6 separate regions of the Homo sapiens genome follow, and regions 1, 2, 3, 4 and 5 are each linked to region 6. The links are contacts of gene promoters, found by promoter capture Hi-C in blood cells and fetal thymus (Javierre and others, 2016). All regions are on one chromosome and are shown on one strand. Each heading gives the region's core, a stretch centred on a gene start or on the middle of the fragment in contact. The rest is flanking DNA. Distances are from core to core; before and after follow the strand shown. Region 1 overlaps C5 (complement C5). Region 2 overlaps C5 (complement C5). Region 3 overlaps CNTRL (centriolin). Region 4 overlaps C5 (complement C5). Region 5 overlaps C5 (complement C5). Region 6 holds the start of PSMD5 (proteasome 26S subunit, non-ATPase 5).

Region 1 (3,014 bases), core at 440-2,939, 190 kb before region 6:
CACACCACTGCACTCCAGCCTGGATCACAGAGCAAGATCCCTGTCTCAAAAAAGTTTTTTGTACAGATAGGGGCCTCACTTATGTTGCCTGCTATGTTTATGTGTTGAGTTAAGGCTGAATTGGACCCCCATGTGTAGTCCAAAGAAAGTCAAAACCTCATTTCAATTATTTGCTAACCCAAACACAAAATTAAGTTTATGGGGAAGCTTTACGAGAACTGTCAAGTTTGTTTAACCATTTGAGAGTTTTACCAAGCTGAAAAATGCCCATACTATACATTTATAAAACATCTGGCTAAAAAATATAATTCATAGAATATTTGCTTTTGAAAGCTTTAAATGAACATATATAAAAATTAGATTCTGGTGTTTATAAAGCCAACAAAATTCACATTTAGTTTATCAAAAACATCATTGTTTGTTTGTTTGTTTGTTTGTTGTTGTTTTTACGTGTTGTTACACTTCATCTTTTAGATGTACAACGAGAGTTGAGTCTCTTCAAGATAATGAGGAGAGATGGGGAAGATTGGAAAAAGAAGAAGGGAAATGGCTGAAATGAACCATATTTCCCTTCTATAACATTTAACAGATCTTCATCCTTCATATTTAATTTGAAGACATGGGTATTTGTCTTCAAATATTTGATCTATAAATATTTTGTACATCAAAGATTGTATAATCAGTTAAATTTTTTAAAATGTAGTTTCTGGCCTTTGAGGGTGTTTGTTTTTATTTACAGGATCCTGAAGGATCAGAAGTTGACATGGTAGAAGAAATTGATCATATTGGAATTATCTCTTTTCCTGACTTCAAGATTCCGTCTAATCCTAGGTATGTAAAAATAGTTGTTAATAAAACCACATACGGAACTTTTGGTGAAGAAGCAGGTAACCAGTTAAAGGGGGCCACCTAATGTTAACAAAGGGTGTCACATAGGTGGATATGCAAAATCTTTTGAAGTTCTAGCAAGAACTTAAGCTCTGTTCTTGGCAAAAAATTTCCAATACTTCTCAGCCATTCTTTTTACATATAGAAATAAAAATTGGGAAGAGGAAAAAATAGTACCCAGGTTTTTTTGTCATAAAAAACATCAACTCCTACCCCTCAAAGTATCTAATAGATTGTCAGTTTAAAAGGCTGGTGTGGTCTTGTTCCTTGCTCTGGTTGCTATAAAATAGGGTCGTCTGTAGTTTTTGCCTGGATAAACTACCAGAAGGCAAAGTCCAAGAGGGAAGGAGTTCTCAGAGCTATATCTATTATTTGGCCTCACATGAAAGGATTTAAGAAAAAGTTTAAACAGGGTTCAATGTAATAAATATTCAATGAACACATTCTTGGTATGTGCAAATCACAATAAGAGGGAGAGATACAAAATAAATAATCCACAGTCCCTGCTTTCAAGAAATTTGTAATAGGCCAGGTGCGGTGGCTCATGCCTGTAATCCCAACGCTTTGGGAGGCCAATGTCGGTGGATCACCTGAGGTCAGGAATTTGAGACCAGCCTGGCCAACATGGTGAAACCCCGTCTCTATCAAAAATACAAAAAAAGCCAGGCGTGGTGGCAGGCACCTGTAATCCCAGCTACTCGGGAGGCTGAGGCAGGAGAATCGCTTGAATCTGGGAGGTGAGGGTTAAAGTGAGCCAAGATCATGCCACTGCACTCCATGTTGGGCAACAGGAGCAAAACTCCAACTAAGATAGAAAGAAGAAGGAAGGAAGGAAGGAAGGAAAGAAAGAGGGAGGGGAGGGAGGAAGGAAGGAGGGAAGAAAAGAAAGAAAGAAATTTATAATAGAGCAGAATGAATAAGACAAGTGCATCTATACATGGCTGCACTAGAATTTTAGAACAACATCTTTTTATGGTCATTTTTCCTCTGCCCTCAGTTAATTCGCTGACTGAAATTTTTCTAAAAATTTAAATTGAATTTGGAGGTTTTAAATAACTTGGATAATTTAAAAATTGTGTACATTCTTGAAAATACTACATGTTCCATAGTGCAGAATTAAACCTATTATTTTATTACTGCTATCATTTCTCCAACTTCATCTTGTGCCACTTGCCCCATGGCAAATTATGTGCTAGCCATGGTCTGGCATGTCCAGTGCTTTCCTACCTCCGTGCCTTTGCACATGTCATCCCCTCTACTTGGAATGGGCTTCACCTGGCTCTTCATAAGCCTGGCTTCTTTTCATTGTTATGACCCAGAGTAGAAGCTACTACAAAAAGGCTATTCCTGGATGCATGATGTAATGTAATCTCTTGCTTTGTTTTACTCCCTATCTCAGCATCTTGTTTATTTTCTTCATGACACTTATCTCAATGTCATAATCATTTCTTTACTTGCTTGCTGGCATTTTTATTCCCCACTAGCTTATAAACTCTTTAAGGTGGGCCTTGTCTGTATTGCACACCAGCAGTTCAACATAATAGGCCCTTGATAAATATTCATTGAATTGATGATGATGGTAATAATCATTATTATAATACTATTAACATTTGTGGACTTCATAGCCAATCTGCAAGGTAGGCTCAGTATATATATGTGTGTGTGTGTGTATATATATGTGTGTATACACACATATATACATACATACACACACACACACACACACACACACCCATAGTTTTTTTGAAACAGAGTCTCACTCTGTCACCCAGGCTGGAGTGCAGTGGTGTGATCTCAGCTCACCACAGCCTTGATCTCGCGGGCTCAAGCAATTCTCCCACCTCAGCCTCCTAAGTAGCTGGGACTACAAGCATGCACCACCACACCAGACTAATTTTTGTATTTTTTTGTAGAGATGGGGTTTCATCATGTTGCCTGGGCTGGTCTCGAACTCCTGGGCTCAAGCGATCCTCCTGCCTTGGCCTCCCAAAGTGCTGGGATTATAGGCATGAGCCACTATACCTGGCCTAGTATATGTTTTTGAATAAAGGTTATTAATTAAAGCCAGGTCATTTTCATCTTTTAAAAACCATGCTTTGTTTCCAACCATAAATTCATTTTTGTGA
Region 2 (2,933 bases), core at 387-2,886, 130 kb before region 6:
AGGATTCAAAAATAAAACACAAACAATCAGCGTAGTGCAGGGAGATTGTCATTTAAGCAGATAGTGAAAAATAAGAGTCTTGATAGGTACATGGAAGTACAGAGGGGCCCTCCTGATCCTGGCTGAAAGATGGAGGGAGTTTGTCAGATGTGTCCAGATGTGTGGGTTAAATCTGAAAAAATCAGAATGAGTTAGCCAAGTGAAGAAAAAGGAAGAACATTCCAGACATAGATAACAGCGCACAGAGCAGTACAGTGAGCGTAGGAGGGAAGGCATGTCTGGGAGGCTGCTGGTGGTCCCTTCTGGCCCTGGTCATACATGCAGACTGTGGCCAGGTTGGAGTTGGCCTTTAGGGTCCCCAGCTCCTTGCCCCATGTCCTTTGCTACTGCTGGATTTTTAAAGGTGGTAACTTTGATGGCTTATGAAAATTTCACAAAGAACAAGACATGTTGGAAAAACTGGGTTCTATATTAATATTAGCTGCCCACATATAGCTGCTGATACATATTTTTCTAATTACTGTGTTTGCATTATTTTAAAGTATATTTAAATGTACAGTAATTGGAAATAATCCTCATTGTTGACATCCTTCACAAATTGGTGTTTGTTAAAAGTAAACAAGCATGAGAAATAATTTTTTTTTTTTGAGATGGAGTTTCGCTCTTGTTGCCCAGGCTGGAGTGCAATGGCGCAACCTCGGCTCACTGCAACCTCCTGGGTTCAAGCAATTCTCCTGCCTCAGCCTCCAAAGCAGGCGGGATTATAGGCGCCTGCCACCACACCTGGCTCATTTTTTGTATTTTTGGTAGATATGGGGTTTCACCATTTGGCCAGGCTGGTCTCAAACTCCTGACCTCTGGTGATCCACCCACCTTGGCCTCCCAAAGTGCTGGGATTACAGGTGTGAGCCACCATGCCCAGCAGAGAAATAAAATTTAATGCAAAAATTGCAAACTGGTGGCCCATACTGAAAAAAAAGAATATGGATATAAACATAGACATAGATATATGCCAACATTTAAGGATCCAGATATTTCAAATAAAAACCTGATTCCCAACTTCCCTTGATAAACCAAAAGACCTGAAAGCAAAGCACCAGGCATTGGCATGGCTTCTACAATTTACTGCAGTCCCCACCAGTCACAGGACGTATGCATGTGCATTTATGTTCATACCTGCTTTGTGCCCGGGCCTCTGCAGGCATTTGTGCTTGTGGTCCCTAGTTTGGGAATATGTCTCCTTTCCCTGGGATCATTTAGAGTTCACCGGAGATTCATGTTCTGAGTCTAAGCTCTAAGAAGGATCTCTTGACCTTCCAGCTACCTGAGGTAGCTGAAATTATTCTTCTCTATAGGGATAATGCTGTAAGAGGCCTCTTGTCATCCTAACAAAATTTAAACCCCAGCCCAGGATGCTGCTTCCATGTAAAACCTGGGCTGTTATTATCCAGTGTGGAATTTTCTACTCCAGCATTTCCTGAAATGTGTTCCATGAAAGAGTGTTAGGTGGTTGAGTGTGCATTAATTAAGTTAAACAAATTAATTTAAATTAAGTTAAACAAGTTCTTTAATCCAGAATTCCCCTGTTCTGTAACATGTATGTGATTAAGTGTGGTGACTCTGGGTGTGAAAAGGGGCAGAGGCAGGGCACAGTGCACAGCATTTCCCAAACTTATTTGTCATGCATGCTTTTCACATGCAGTATCTCAAGACACCTGTTTTCCAACAAATGCTGCTATATTCTATCAGGGAGAACAAGAATGTTGACCTACTTTCCTACATTTACTAAAATTTGAAGGAAGGATTGAGAAACTTTAACATATGCCCAATCCATCTTGCATTATTGTGCTAAGCAAAGGAAAGGGGAGGCTTGGAGTAAAGGAAGTGCCAACCCCTCGGGCTCAAAATTATCTCTCCTGTACTTTCCACAAATTAGGGAGCATTTGGATGACAGAGTTTCTCTGGAGAGGAGAATGACTTAACTCCGTTTATGTCTTCAGTTTCCTCCTAGCAGAGTGGGAAGAAGAGCAGCAGCAACTAAGGATTTGGCAGGCTTGAGTGGGGTGCTAGTGGTTTGGGGTGGGGTACCAGGGGTTTCTGCAAACAAAGGCGGTGACAAGTGGAAAAGATAAATCATCAAGAGATGGAAAAGGGGTGCAAAGGAGGAGCTCAGAGAGGACCAAAGATAGATGCACCCGCTTTCAAGTTATGTGGAGGTTCCCTGCTCTGGGTTCTAATGAAAACGATCTCCATTGGCACACAGGATGCTGATTCCTGAGCTAGGCACAGAAAGGAATTTATTCAGTTGGCAAAAGGAGATGAAGATCCAGATTTACCATAGCCATATGTAAATGAAAATGTAACCAGAAGTGACCTCTGACATGTTGCTTTTGTTGGTTCACTCAGGAGATCTCAGACATCTTATTTACATGTAGAAGGGAAAGGGGAAATACCAGCCTTGTTTAGCACCTGCCATGGGCATAGGATTTTCAGTGTCTCATCCAGTTACTCTCAGAAGAGCTCTGAGAGAGGAGGCTGGTACATGTCAACCCACTTTTCATAGCTCTATCCTCCCTCCCTATCAAATGATGAAAGAAAGCATGGTTTGTTTCTCTATTATCTTTCCAGGTGCTTCTCAATGATGACCTCATTGTCAGTACAGGATTTGGCAGTGGCTTGGCTACAGTACATGTAAGTATTTAATTGATATCCAATAACGAGTTATGTGTCCATTTGTACTAGGTAACATAAAAGTTAGGAGCTTTGCCACAAAGTCACAGAAATCTGGGCTTGGGTAACCATGACTAAAGTGGGATTCACTTATGTAAATCTTTCTAGCAATCTTTGTAACTATCCTCACAATTTTTTTGAAAATAACAATGTTGGTCAGGCATGGTGGCTCACGCCTTTAATCCCAGCACTTTGGGAGGCCT
Region 3 (3,067 bases), core at 457-2,956, 250 kb before region 6:
AATGCCAATGTCAAATATCAATGGGGTGAGGACATCATACAAAATTAGAAATAAATATTTATTGATTTTCCTATTGCACAGCTGACACTAAGTTGACACTATCTAAGGATCAACTACTTCAGGAATATTTATGGCAAATTTTAGATCTATGGCTACCTCTTCCCATCATCCCATAGCATCAACAGCCCCAAGGTGATGCTGTACAACATGGGGTTGGGCTTGGGCTCTGAGGCTCTTGACTGTCACAGGATGAAATTAGAAAGCATAGGTATTGTTAACAACATGGCATTAAATGAATATTGCTTATTATTATTGGCCTCCACTGGTGAAGGCTTAAAGAATATAGCTTTAGACTTATTTAGTGTTTTAAAGTTTTTTTTAAAGCATTTTCACATCTATCATTTCATCTGAGCCCCCATAATACCCCTGTAAAGGAGGCAGTATAGGGATTGTTTTCCCCAAACAGTGGTTTTAGAGGGATTAAAGAATTCTCCAAGGTCATGGAAGGCAATTCTATAGAGGCCCATCTTTGAAGTCACATCTTTCATTTTCTATTCTACAACTGATGTTCATTAAATTATGGCACAATTTTCCCAATTTTAATACAAATTTAAATAAATTAACAAATTTACTAAGCAAATGCTTATTAAATACCTAGCTGTGAATAAATACCATAAGAAAATCATAAACTATATTCCAGAGAAAAATATACAACATCATCCAAATATGTAAATCATAACAAAGTTGCTCTATTATGAAAAGCTAGTGATCAACCTCCTATAACACCTAACATTATAATCAAAATAAACTGGTAAATTTGAAATTGGAAGTTAATACTGTCAAAAAAAAAAAAACCCAGAACTTTCTTCTAGGCATTCAGTGATCTGGATCCTGGCACAAAATGTGACTCTAGATAAGGGACTTAACCTGTCCTAGACCTTACTTGCTACTACCTAACTCATAGTGTTACAAAAATAATCCTTGTACTGCCTTCTTAACAAGAATGTTATGAGGCTTACATGAAATGATAAATGTAAAAATGCTAAGAGGTCAACCCTAGGTTGACCTAGGAACCCATGCAAAATGAGGACTGCTTGTATTTAATTAATCTAGAAAATCATGGGCTATGTCTGAATCTAGTGTTTAGTCAAAGGAGCAAAATCTTTAAAAGAAGAAATCCCATTTTTAAAAAACTTAGATATTTTTAATCTTTTATTTTTTAACAAGTCTAAAAATTCCTGCTATTTTGAATAACTTACCGATGATATCTTGTTGCCTTTCAAATTGAGGACTCGCAAAGATTTTAACTTCTTCCCTAACCATACTGGAATATGCTCAATTTCATTTCCTGCAAGGTTAAGCTTTTGCAGATTACACATATTTTCTATGCCTTCAATTTTGCTGGAAAGCAAAGGATAAAATAAAATTTAGTGAGTACAATTATAGAGTCTCTCCATTGTATTTTTAGAATAAACAGCTTTAGCTCCATGTTAGATTACTTTTCATAATGATAATTTATCAACTCTTTTCATAAATGAGAACAAAGAAAAGTGGCTAAAGCCAAATTTACCAGAACAGCTAAACTGCCAACTTTTTATTACTATGCCCAGGAATCCTATCAATCTTATTATTAGACTTTGCAACTCCATAACATAGAAAAGAAAAATGTGACCATGGCATTCTCACCGACTACTGTGAACAGTACTAGCAAACAGCCAGTGGAGACCTGGGAAACTCAATAGCACCCTGTCCTATCTGCTACATTCCTGTCCAAAAGATGTTCCTAATTATTGTCTTAAGTTATCATAAAAAGATTAGCTATGCCAGCAGGATATGGGAGCCCATAGATGATACTGTATTTAGGAATATAAGTAATTTAACCAGAACTTTTAAATAAAGCATTTATCACACATATTAATGAATTCTGATTGATGAAGGTTTTTCCCAAGTCACTTCTAATTTATTTGTCAATTTAATTCTTTGGTCAATTTTCTATACTGCACAAATACTTCAAAGCCTCTATCTACACTGGGTAAATATTTCTAAGCTTCTCTACTTTCAATTTTATTTTGCTGAAAATATTTTCATCAGAGTCAACTTTTTATACAAATTTTATAATAAGGGTTTGGTTCATTAATCATTTTTTTTCATTTCAGTTTTGTCATATCAGAACTTCTGCCATTGCTAGTCATTTTCTTGGCCATCATATTTACCAAGTCTAACTTGGGGGAAAAGCATGCAGATATTAAGAATTTCAAGATTTGATTCTTGTATCATTTTGTCTATAACAAGTTTTCTATATGAAGTTTTAGCCAGTGTCAGTTTTAGTATGTTTATTTCTCACAGTAATATATATTATGAATTGGAAACAGGATTGAGAGCATATTTCTTGTAGCAATAAGCAAAGAACATCAGAATCAAAACAGATTAGAACATCTTGGGGGTCAAAATGGCAGGGTTAAAACATTCTGCTTCATGTCAACATTCTTAATGTAATAAGGTAATAAATCACAGACAATATCTGGGAAAACTTCCTGTCAGAAATGAAATTAAGATACAATTTGGTGCTCAAAAATATATCTCTTTGATAATGCTAGATGTTATTCTGTACTTCAGTAATGCCAAAACATAAAGACAGTTACCTACCATATGTGAAGAGACAGACATTCATTTGATTGATGAATAAAGATAAAAATATCTTCTGTTTCTGTCAAATCATTCTTTCAGTAATGTGGATAACATTAATCTACCTCTCTAACAAAGCTATCTGCAATGCTGCCTAAAGATTTTGTTATATAACTCACCTGATTTTGTTATATGATAAGTTGAGTTCACGTAATTTTAACAGCTTGTCCAACTTTTCAATCTTCCCTATTAGATTATAGCTGAGATTCAGTACTTCAAGTTTAACACATTTTTCCAAATTCTCAATATACTAATTGGAAACAAATGAATGAATACTTTACACAACAGATGACTTGACATAAAGTACAACATTTACTTATGTGCATCAGGGTCTGTTTGATCAGTCATCAGAAAATAATATACCCTTACTGCTCTCCTGGAG
Region 4 (2,943 bases), core at 293-2,792, 150 kb before region 6:
TTGTGAGAATCCAATGCAATAATTCATTTAAAGAACTTAGTAGCATGCTTGGTACTCTATCAGTAGAATGATCAATGTTACCTTTTTTTGGACATAAACCAGTGATCACAGTAGAAAAATTATCTGATACCAGTATGCTAAAACTCTGTTGTTTTGCCCATAGATTAAAAAGTATCAAAACTAGACTGGGAAGGGAAGGTGGAAAGAATTTCAGATCATACTTCCCTGTGGAGCTAATGTTCAATATATAGTTGATTAAGAAATTACATGTTAGTTATTCTTAGCTTTCAGTTCCAGGAACAATTTTCTGTCTTTGGGCAAGCTGGCATGCTATATTTTGCTGGTGAATAAGATTTATATAACCTATTTATTTCACATCTTATAATGACCAGGAAGCTTACAGCCAAATTTAATGCTTTATTTAATAAGATTATACAAGCCTAGGGTTTGATTAAAGTCCTTGATGATTTTTAACTTTCTTTTAAAATTTTAATAGTCTAATTATAAGTCTTTTATTTTGAAATATTCTTTGGAAGTAGATACATTATAAATAATCTGCAAACAGTCTTCCCCTGGAAACTCTGTATAAATCCAAATTTTCTAAATTACAGGTACCATTAGCAGACGAAAGGAGTTCCCATACAGGATACCCTTAGATTTGGTCCCCAAAACAGAAATCAAAAGGATTTTGAGTGTAAAAGGTAAATTAACAAATGCCATTTTTATTTCTCATTTCACTTGGTGCTTCAAACAAAAATCAAATATCCTCATGATTATTCTGTTTCTCCACTTCCGTGTTCAGTAGCACACACAAATCTACCTTTAGGAGTGCTCCACCCCTACCCACCCCCACTTTCAAACCTTTAATCACTTTTCCCACTATCTTCTTCCAACGGCCTGATTTACATGGAGATGCATTCTCCTCCAATGGAAGGTAGGGACTGTCATTGGCTCAAAGATGTCTCTAAAATGGGGGTCCAGTTGCTTCTAGACTTAAAGAACTTTCCATGGTCTTAGTGGCCAGTCCCGCTCCAGAGAAGGCCTATGGCCTGCACATGGCCTAGCGAGAACAGCACTGCTCTGCTGAAGTACTGGTCCCAGAAGGGTTGTCTTAGTCCATTTATGCTGCCATAACAAAATAACAAAATTTATAAATAATACAAATTTATTTCTCACAGTTCTGGAGGCTGGGAAGTCCAAGATCAAGGCATCAAGAGATTGGGTGTTTGGCAAGGGCTGCTCTCTGTTTCCATGAGGATATATGTTGCTGTATCCTCCTGTGGCAGAAAGTGGAAAGGCAAAAGGGCAAAAAGGGGTGAAGAACTTCCTCTTACCTCGTCTATAAGATTATTAATCCCACTCATTAGGGTGGAGCCATCATAACCTAATCACCTCTCAAAAAGCCCCACCTTCTAATACTATCACCTTGGTGATTAGGCTTCAGTGTATGAATTTTGGAGAGACATATACATTCAAACCATAGCAGGGATTCTCCTCCCCTCGCATACATTTGCAGAAGTGATATTTGCACAAGTGACTAGGTTTTCCTTAGTCTCCAGGCTTTACAATTCAATAACATATTACCGAATGATAGAATGTCCTGACTACATTTTATCTCAGATAAAACCCTAGAATCACAAAATGTTAGTACTGGAAAGGATCTTTTTGATCATGTGCAACCCTGCTGTTGGATATAAAAGAAAGTGGCATGTCCAAGGTTGCACAGTGAATTATAGACAGTCATGTCAGCACTCCCTGTTCAGGCTCTTTGCTTTGCTTCCTGGAAGGGATTGGTAAATATGGTTTATAATGTCTAAAGCTAACAGGTTGAATGGCAACTAATTTGCCATGTTCTCTTGCAGCAATCAGTCCACTGTATTACATTACCTACCACCATATTTTAGTGATTTTTAAAGTCTTTTTTTTTTTTGTTTCTTTCAAATTCATGTTCCTAACCGGATCTTTTTTTCTCACCCCGTTTCTGAGAAGCAAGTCAACTGCCTAGATAAAAAGGGAAGAACCATCTCTAGATGGTTGTTCTTCTCTCTTGAGAACATACTGTTAGAAGTTAATAAAAAGCAATGTGTCTACTTTGATCTTTTTTGTTTCAGGACTGCTTGTAGGTGAGATCTTGTCTGCAGTTCTAAGTCAGGAAGGCATCAATATCCTAACCCACCTCCCCAAAGGGAGTGCAGAGGCGGAGCTGATGAGCGTTGTCCCAGTATTCTATGTTTTTCACTACCTGGAAACAGGAAATCATTGGAACATTTTTCATTCTGACCCATTAATTGAAAAGCAGAAACTGAAGAAAAAATTAAAAGAAGGTAAAAAAAAAAAGTATTTCACATAAAAATTGGGTGATTCTAAACTAATATTTTTATTAAACTAATATTTAAGTTGTGAATTATAGAAAACTTTGTAAGAGAATTTTAGCAAAAAAATCATGAGATGGACTCTACTATATAAATAAATATTATTTCTGTAGCATTTTGGCTCAACTTACCAAAATGCCTGAATGAGAGGCAAGGCACCTGCATTCCAAACTACAGAACACTTCCTTCCTTTTCGAATGAGATCAGAATGTTCTACTTGATAATTCCCAATTCGAGCAATTCATATACTTCCTTTGAGAAGTTCAATGCTGGCCACAGAGCATATGCTTGCTGCCCAACACCAAAGGAAGCTTACCATTCTCAGGGCCTGATAAAGTGTTCTTTGAGTAGAAACGGAGGTCTGTTAAGCACCGTGTTCTTTTTCTTGTGCTTCTTAGGGATGTTGAGCATTATGTCCTACAGAAATGCTGACTACTCTTACAGTGTGTGGAAGGGTGGAAGTGCTAGCACTTGGTAAGTAGAAGATTTTGAGTTGCATTTTCATATAGTGGTTAATTAACTAAAGAATAATAACCATAATGGAAACTCCATTCCTCCAGTTGCTCAGGCT
Region 5 (2,943 bases), core at 337-2,836, 170 kb before region 6:
GACCTCTGAGGGCATTTTGGCTTCACGTGATTTTTTTTTTTTAATCTTAAACCTTCAATTTAGAATCTAAACCCTGGCTTTAAATCCCCAAATAAGATGCACTCCACTTATTCATCTATTTTTTTTTAATCGGTGAAACAAAAGGGGTTTTAGTGACAGTGTGATGACTTTGAACAGTTTTTGGGTTCAAATTTTAGCTCTCTAATTTACTAGTTGTGTGATTTTGAATTAAAATCAGTATGACTTTTAGTTTCTGAGCCTCAGTTTCTTAAATGAGGAGAATAATATTCCTCTTATTGATGTATTGTGAGAATGAAAGGAGTTAAATACATGTTAAAGTTCCTGGCACATAGTAGGCCCATAAACGTTAACTCACTCTTTCTTCCTTCCTTCCTTCCTTCCTTCCTTCCTTCCTTCCTTCCTTCCTTCCTTCCTTCCTTTCCTTCCTTCCTTCCTTCTTTCTTTCTTTCTTTTCTTTCTTTCTTTCCCTCCCTCCCTCCCTTCTTTCCTTCCTTCCTTCCTTCTTTCTTTCTTTCCCTCCCTCCCTCCCTCCCTTCTTTCTTGCCTTCCTTCCTTCCTTCCTTCCTTCCTTCCTTCCTTCCTTTCTTTTTGGTGGAGTCTCACTCTGTCCCCCAAGCTGGAGTGCAGTGGCATGATTTCGACTCACTGCAACCTCTGCCTCCCAAGTTCAAGCAATTCTCCTGCCTCAGCCTTCCGAGTAGCTGGGATTACATATGCCCACCACAGTGCCCGGCTAATTTTTTTATTTTTAGTAGAGCCAGGGTTTCACCATGTTGGCCAGGCAGGTCTCAAACTCCTGACCTCAGGTGATCTGCCTGCCTTGGCCTCCCAAACTTCTGGGATTACAGGTGTGAGCCACCGTGCCCAGCCAAAATTGGTATGTCTTTTTTTTTTTTTTTTTTTTTTTTTGAGACAGAGTCTTGCTCTGTTGCACAGGCTGGAGTGCAGTGGCATGATCTCAGCTCACTGCAAACTTCACCTCTCGGGCTCCAGTAATTCTCATGCCTCAGCCTCCCGAGTAGGTGTGATTACAGTCATGCACCACCATGCCTGGCTAACTTTTGTATTTTTAGTAGAGATGGTGTTTCACTATGTTGGCCAGGCTGGTCTTGAACTCCTGGCCTCAAGTGATCGGCCCACCTCGGCCTCCCAAAGTGCTAGGATTACAGGTGTGAGCCACTGTGCCCAGCCTAACTTTATTTTTCTTTAACATAATTTCTGCTCCAGCTCCAGGCTGCATCCTAAAGCACAGGTTTTGTTTTTGTTTGTTTATTTTTTACTTATTGTTGCTGCTGCTGTTTATTTTTAGATTTTATCCAAGGGCAAAATTATCCACTTTGGCACGAGGGAGAAATTTTCAGATGCATCTTATCAAAGTATAAACATTCCAGTAACACAGAACATGGTTCCTTCATCCCGACTTCTGGTCTATTACATCGTCACAGGAGAACAGACAGCAGAATTAGTGTCTGATTCAGTCTGGTTAAATATTGAAGAAAAATGTGGCAACCAGCTCCAGGTAAGCCACAAATTATAAGTCACAATTGAATTTTCTTTTCAATGAAGGAGGCTGCCAAAGTTTTAGCTGCTTCTGAAAAGTCTTGTCTCATACAAATGATCTTTTCTTTTCTTTTTCAAATGAACTTTTAGGTTCATCTGTCTCCTGATGCAGATGCATATTCTCCAGGCCAAACTGTGTCTCTTAATATGGCAACTGGAATGGATTCCTGGGTGGCATTAGCAGCAGTGGACAGTGCTGTGTATGGAGTCCAAAGAGGAGCCAAAAAGCCCTTGGAAAGAGTTAAGTAATGCATGTCTCGCTGCAGTGTTGCATGAAGTGTGGCCACCAGGCTAGGATATGGAGGAAGAACTAAGGGAAGACTAGGCCTGCTTTTCTGTAATCTACTCAACATACTCATTTTTAGGAAGGTAAACCATCCTCCTGTCAGCTCCCAAAGCACAGGTCAATCCTCTTTTGTTTTTCAAATGTAAATGTAAGCACTTTAAGAATATATGATCATGGTAGCAATTACATTCATGGAGGAAAAATTACTATCAGAATACTTTGGAGGTTTAGGGTAGGGTGTTGATGGCAGTTATAGTAGCTAGTAGCAGCACAGGAAAGACCTGTATAGGTAACATTTGGATTTTTTTTAAATTCTCATTGAAATCCATAGCACAGAAGAATCTCAAAATCATTCAATTCTCATAAGTTCCTATTTATCTTATTATGTTCAGCTATTATTTTCGAGGCTTGAATGTCTTTGAACAAGGAAGGAAGGACTGAGAAACTGTAAAATTAAAAAATACTCGGAGAACGAATAAGCCTGTCCAAACAAGTCTTCAGCCATTTAGAACCTAGGGACCTCCCCACCAAAATGCACAAAGTTGTGCTTTTAAAGCAACTTAAAATTAATTTCTATGTTAATTCAGTCCTTCATGCATTCATACCTATTTATTTATTTATTTGGAACATTATATTGATTGCAGCATTCATTCTATGTACAAAACACTATATATCAGTTTCTAAGAAACTCCTCATCAAAGCTATTTGTTTAAGACTTAGTTCTTGATTTAACTTTGAATAGTTATGTATTTATAAATACAAAAGGACAAACTTAGAAACAAAGTTGGGAAATTTTGTCTTTGATCATTTGAAAAATATCATCTGTGTATTTCACTGGTTTGTGATAACCATGTAACAATTAGTACCTTTTAGATCTTTAGAGGAATGATTTATACATCTCAATGTGCTCAACATTTTGCCTTTCTGGACAGGTATTTCAATTCTTAGAGAAGAGTGATCTGGGCTGTGGGGCAGGTGGTGGCCTCAACAATGCCAATGTGTTCCACCTAGCTGGACTTACCTTCCTCACTAATGCAAATGCAGATGACTCCCAAGAAAATGGTAAAATGCTCAGC
Region 6 (3,177 bases), core at 617-3,116:
TATCACCCATCACCTCTTTTATCACTACCAAAGCATCGGCAATATTGTACTGTTGCCATGCTTCTTTCAGAGTAAGGTGAGGGTTTTTTCAATACAGTCAGCAAAGTGGTCAAACATATGCTTGATTATGTTCAAATGCTTCAGTTATACCCTGACCCAAGGGCTGAAGAAAGCTAGGGCCTTCCTGAGGGAGAAACACAGTATCAACATTAGAATGAACAAAGAATAATGAATCTGGGTGATTGGGACCTCTGTCCACAGTTAGCAACATTCTGATTTCCAGATTTTTTTTGTTAAATGACTTCGGATTTGATGGATAAAAAAATTGTAAAACTAATCCAAAAAGTGGCAGTGGTGATTCTGGGTGTGATTACAAGAAAACAGGAAGGCGTTTATCTCTAAAAGACAAGTGGGGTGTTAGAGTCTTTGTAAAGCAGCAGTGGTTTTATCATTTTGTCACCTGAGGCACTGCCACAAAAAAATGAGGGAAATCCTGTCCTTAGCTTCCTCTAAGCTTTCCAGATTTTTGTCTTTTGCCCCAAAAGTAGGAAGGCATGCACTGCAAAAGATGGGTCATCTCCTTGGCGTTGAAGACCTGTTGAGGCACAAAGCCTCTCTCCAGTTGCTTGGAATACTCGATACCCACTCAGGATTTAAGGGTCCTTCCTCCCCATCAACTTCGTATGTTGCAAAACAGCAGCGATTTTTAAAGTTCTCAAACCATCCCTTGCTCGCATGATACTTATTTGGGTTGTCCTCCCCAGATGTTTCCCATTGGTTCCCTGTAGATGTATTTGGCCTGGTTGCAGAGGGCCTTCCGGGTCAGATGCCGCCCTCTGTCATCTGGCCTTCCACCTAAAAGGTTAACTGGGTCTCCACCTTCACGATGTTTACATTACAGGGGAATACACAGCAGCTTAGAGCAGATGGGCGACCAACTCTCCACGCTGGTCTTTCTTGGTTTCCTGAGGGTAGTGGAGGACAAGAGGGGAAAGCAGGGTCTTGCTCTGTCGCCCAGGCTGGAGTGCAGTGGCACAATCACCGCTCACTGAAGCCTCGACCTCCTAGACTTAGGGGACCCTCCCGCTTCAGCCTCCCGAGTAGCTGGGACTACAGGTGCGTGCCACCACACCGCACTAATTTTTTTCCTTTTTTTTTTTTTTTCTTTTTGGTAGAGACGGGTTTCTCACTATGTTGCCCAGGCTGGTCTCGAACTCCCGGGCTCAAGCGATCCTCCCGCCGCGGCCTCCCAAAGCGCTGGGATTACAGGTACGGCCACTGCGACCAGCTGCTTCTCCTTGGTGGACTGATCAACACCAACAAGGCGGCGCACGTCCCTATTACTCACGCCTTCGTCAGGCTCCTGGAGAATATTCATCCAGTCTTCCAGAGGCATGACGCTCCGCCTCCTCTTGACAGGTGGCTGGCCCAGGATCAAGATTCCCCTCCAGGCCACCGCTCCACCTGGGGAGGCCTCAGCCGCGGCCGTAGCCGCGGTGGCCTCCATAACGGCTGCAGTCGTCCCCGCCTAGAGCCTGGTTTTGGAGCCTCGAGGACGCCGACGAGGCTGTTTAACTTCCCGTGAGTCCCCACCCTCGCCGCTCCGCTGGCCGGGAATTTGGCAAGGCTTTGCCCTACGCGGTAAACACGTAAGCCTACTGGCCTCCGCATTTCCCTGAGCAGCGACCTAGATGACGCCAGACTGAGGGAGCCGCAACCACTGGCTACAGTTGACACGGCCCTAACGGAGGCTTCTCGCGAGGCTTGGCAGCCCCATAGCCATCTCAGGGACAAGGAGGCTGTGATCAGATCTCGCGAGGTTCAGGAAAGCGCCCCGGGAACTGGGCCGCTGGGCCAGCCCCTGCGTCGGGGGGCAAGATGGCAGCCCAGGCTTTGGCGCTGCTGAGAGAGGTAGCGAGGCTGGAAGCGCCGCTGGAGGAGCTACGCGCGCTTCACTCCGTGCTGCAGGCAGTGCCGCTCAACGAGCTTCGCCAGCAAGCGGCGGAGCTGCGCCTCGGCCCGCTCTTCTCCCTGCTTAACGAGAACCATAGGTGAGAGGACCCCGGGGGCTTGAGCCGAGGAGAGGGGCACCCCTAAATATGGACATGAGAGTGGTTGAGGGCAAGAACAGCGCTTTTCCCAGTCACAGGGGAGGTGGAAAGTAGCCGAAATTTGCAGAGAAGGAAGGATCCTGGGTTCAGAGGCAGGAGATGGGGTTCAGGTTCAGCCTCTGAGAGTGCCCCAGGGTGTTTTCTCCCGTCGCCTGGCCTCGCTGCCTCTGAGCAGTGAGGCACTGCCTTCTTCATCAAATAGAAATTAAAGGAGGAAAGCAAAGCTGTCCACTTACAAGGAGCATTCCACATCTCTTTGTACAGGTTCTTGATTTGTTTCCCCTTCTAAAAGGATCCTATCCTGGCAATGTGGCAAGAACCATCAGCATTTTAAATTCACATGCTTTTTCATCCAGTCATTCTTGTTAAAAAAATTTAATGCAAGTATACGCGCACAAAATGTGCAGTTACTTTGTTCTTTCGAACCCGAGGCTGGAATCGCCCCAAAAGCAGCGGCAAGAGAGTTCCCACGAGGGAGTGCTTCAAACCTTCCCGAGATGTGGCTGGTTGGGATGACAGAAAAAGAAGCACTGAATGCCAAGGCGATCAGTCCAAAAGCGTTTAGGGGGAAACCTGCAGAGGGCTGCAGAAATTGTCAAGACGGACACCGGGAGAAAGGTGTTCCTGGGTATGTCCGCAGTGAGGGGGTCAGGGTATGGAGTTCAGATGAGAGTTTAAAGGAATTTGGCTCAGGGTTGAGGCCAGTTTCTTCCAGTGTTTTGGGCAACAACCTAGGTACCTTTATCAGGCCTGTGAATGTTCAAGGCCCCTGGTTTATGGTCAAGCCTGCTAGGGAAACCTGCCGCTGGCTAGGTCAGAGAGCAATCAAGGCACTCTGATTTTCCATCAGGACAGAGAAAGAAAGGGGGCGACTGGAGGACCCTACAACATTATATGCAAGAATATAACATATCGTGTGTGGCACCAGAACACTAGAAACAATCTAAATATCCGTTAACAGAGGATTCCAAATTATGCGCTATTACTCTGTAACACTGTGCAGTTATTTAAGTTATTGAGGTAGATGTATATATATGTATGTGGACATGGAAAGATCTCTGTGTTT

The links. Contacts are between HindIII fragments. The CHiCAGO score rates a contact against its expected background, and 5 or more counts as called.
Region 1: a contact is called between a fragment that was not itself captured here and the fragment with the promoter of PSMD5 in region 6, in 3 of 17 cell types (naive CD8 T cells, total CD4 T cells and total B cells). The highest score is 6.7, in naive CD8 T cells.
Region 2: a fragment that was not itself captured here is called in contact with the fragment with the promoter of PSMD5 in region 6 in 8 of 17 cell types (non-activated CD4 T cells, naive CD8 T cells, total CD4 T cells and 5 more); the score reaches 8.8 in non-activated CD4 T cells.
Region 3: a fragment that was not itself captured here is called in contact with the fragment with the promoter of PSMD5 in region 6 in 5 of 17 cell types (naive CD4 T cells, non-activated CD4 T cells, total CD8 T cells and 2 more); the score reaches 8.9 in naive CD4 T cells.
Region 4: a contact is called between a fragment that was not itself captured here and the fragment with the promoter of PSMD5 in region 6, in 9 of 17 cell types (naive CD4 T cells, naive CD8 T cells, total CD4 T cells and 6 more). The highest score is 11.2, in naive CD4 T cells.
Region 5: a contact is called between a fragment that was not itself captured here and the fragment with the promoter of PSMD5 in region 6, in 1 of 17 cell types (total CD4 T cells). The highest score is 5.0, in total CD4 T cells.

The regions. Positions count from the first base shown.
Region 1 is chr9:121,032,620-121,035,633 of GRCh38, reverse strand. It overlaps C5 (complement C5), which reads left to right. Exons shown (of 41, transcript NM_001735.3): 5 at 740-831. Among named protein-coding and RNA genes, the nearest start is that of C5, 16 kb to the left of the region's middle. The HindIII fragment of the contact is 2,707 bases long and covers 336-3,014 here.
Region 2 is chr9:120,971,688-120,974,620 of GRCh38, reverse strand. C5 (complement C5) reads left to right here. Exons shown (of 41, transcript NM_001735.3): 31 at 2,629-2,691. Among named protein-coding and RNA genes, the nearest start is that of C5-OT1, 20 kb to the right of the region's middle. The HindIII fragment of the contact is 5,007 bases long and covers 1-2,933 here.
Region 3 is chr9:121,094,756-121,097,822 of GRCh38, reverse strand. CNTRL (centriolin) reads right to left here. Exons shown (of 44, transcript NM_007018.6): 5 at 2,805-2,935; 6 at 1,260-1,401. Among named protein-coding and RNA genes, the nearest start is that of CNTRL, 21 kb to the right of the region's middle. The HindIII fragment of the contact is 686 bases long and covers 1,364-2,049 here.
Region 4 is chr9:120,988,949-120,991,891 of GRCh38, reverse strand. C5 (complement C5) reads left to right here. Exons shown (of 41, transcript NM_001735.3): 23 at 612-701; 24 at 2,112-2,324; 25 at 2,771-2,846. Among named protein-coding and RNA genes, the nearest start is that of C5-OT1, 38 kb to the right of the region's middle. The HindIII fragment of the contact is 2,287 bases long and covers 399-2,685 here.
Region 5 is chr9:121,016,240-121,019,182 of GRCh38, reverse strand. It overlaps C5 (complement C5), which reads left to right. Exons shown (of 41, transcript NM_001735.3): 13 at 1,331-1,540; 14 at 1,672-1,821; 15 at 2,800-2,929. Among named protein-coding and RNA genes, the nearest start is that of C5, 33 kb to the left of the region's middle. The HindIII fragment of the contact is 7,296 bases long and covers 1-2,943 here.
Region 6 is chr9:120,841,611-120,844,787 of GRCh38, reverse strand. PSMD5 (proteasome 26S subunit, non-ATPase 5) reads left to right here and starts at 1,866. Exons shown (of 10, transcript NM_005047.4): 1 at 1,866-2,051. The coding sequence starts at 1,879. It also overlaps the pseudogene CUTALP. RefSeq lists enhancers at 1,295-1,644, 1,603-1,897, 1,663-1,957, 1,845-2,144, 1,716-2,245. The HindIII fragment of the contact is 10,742 bases long and covers 517-3,177 here.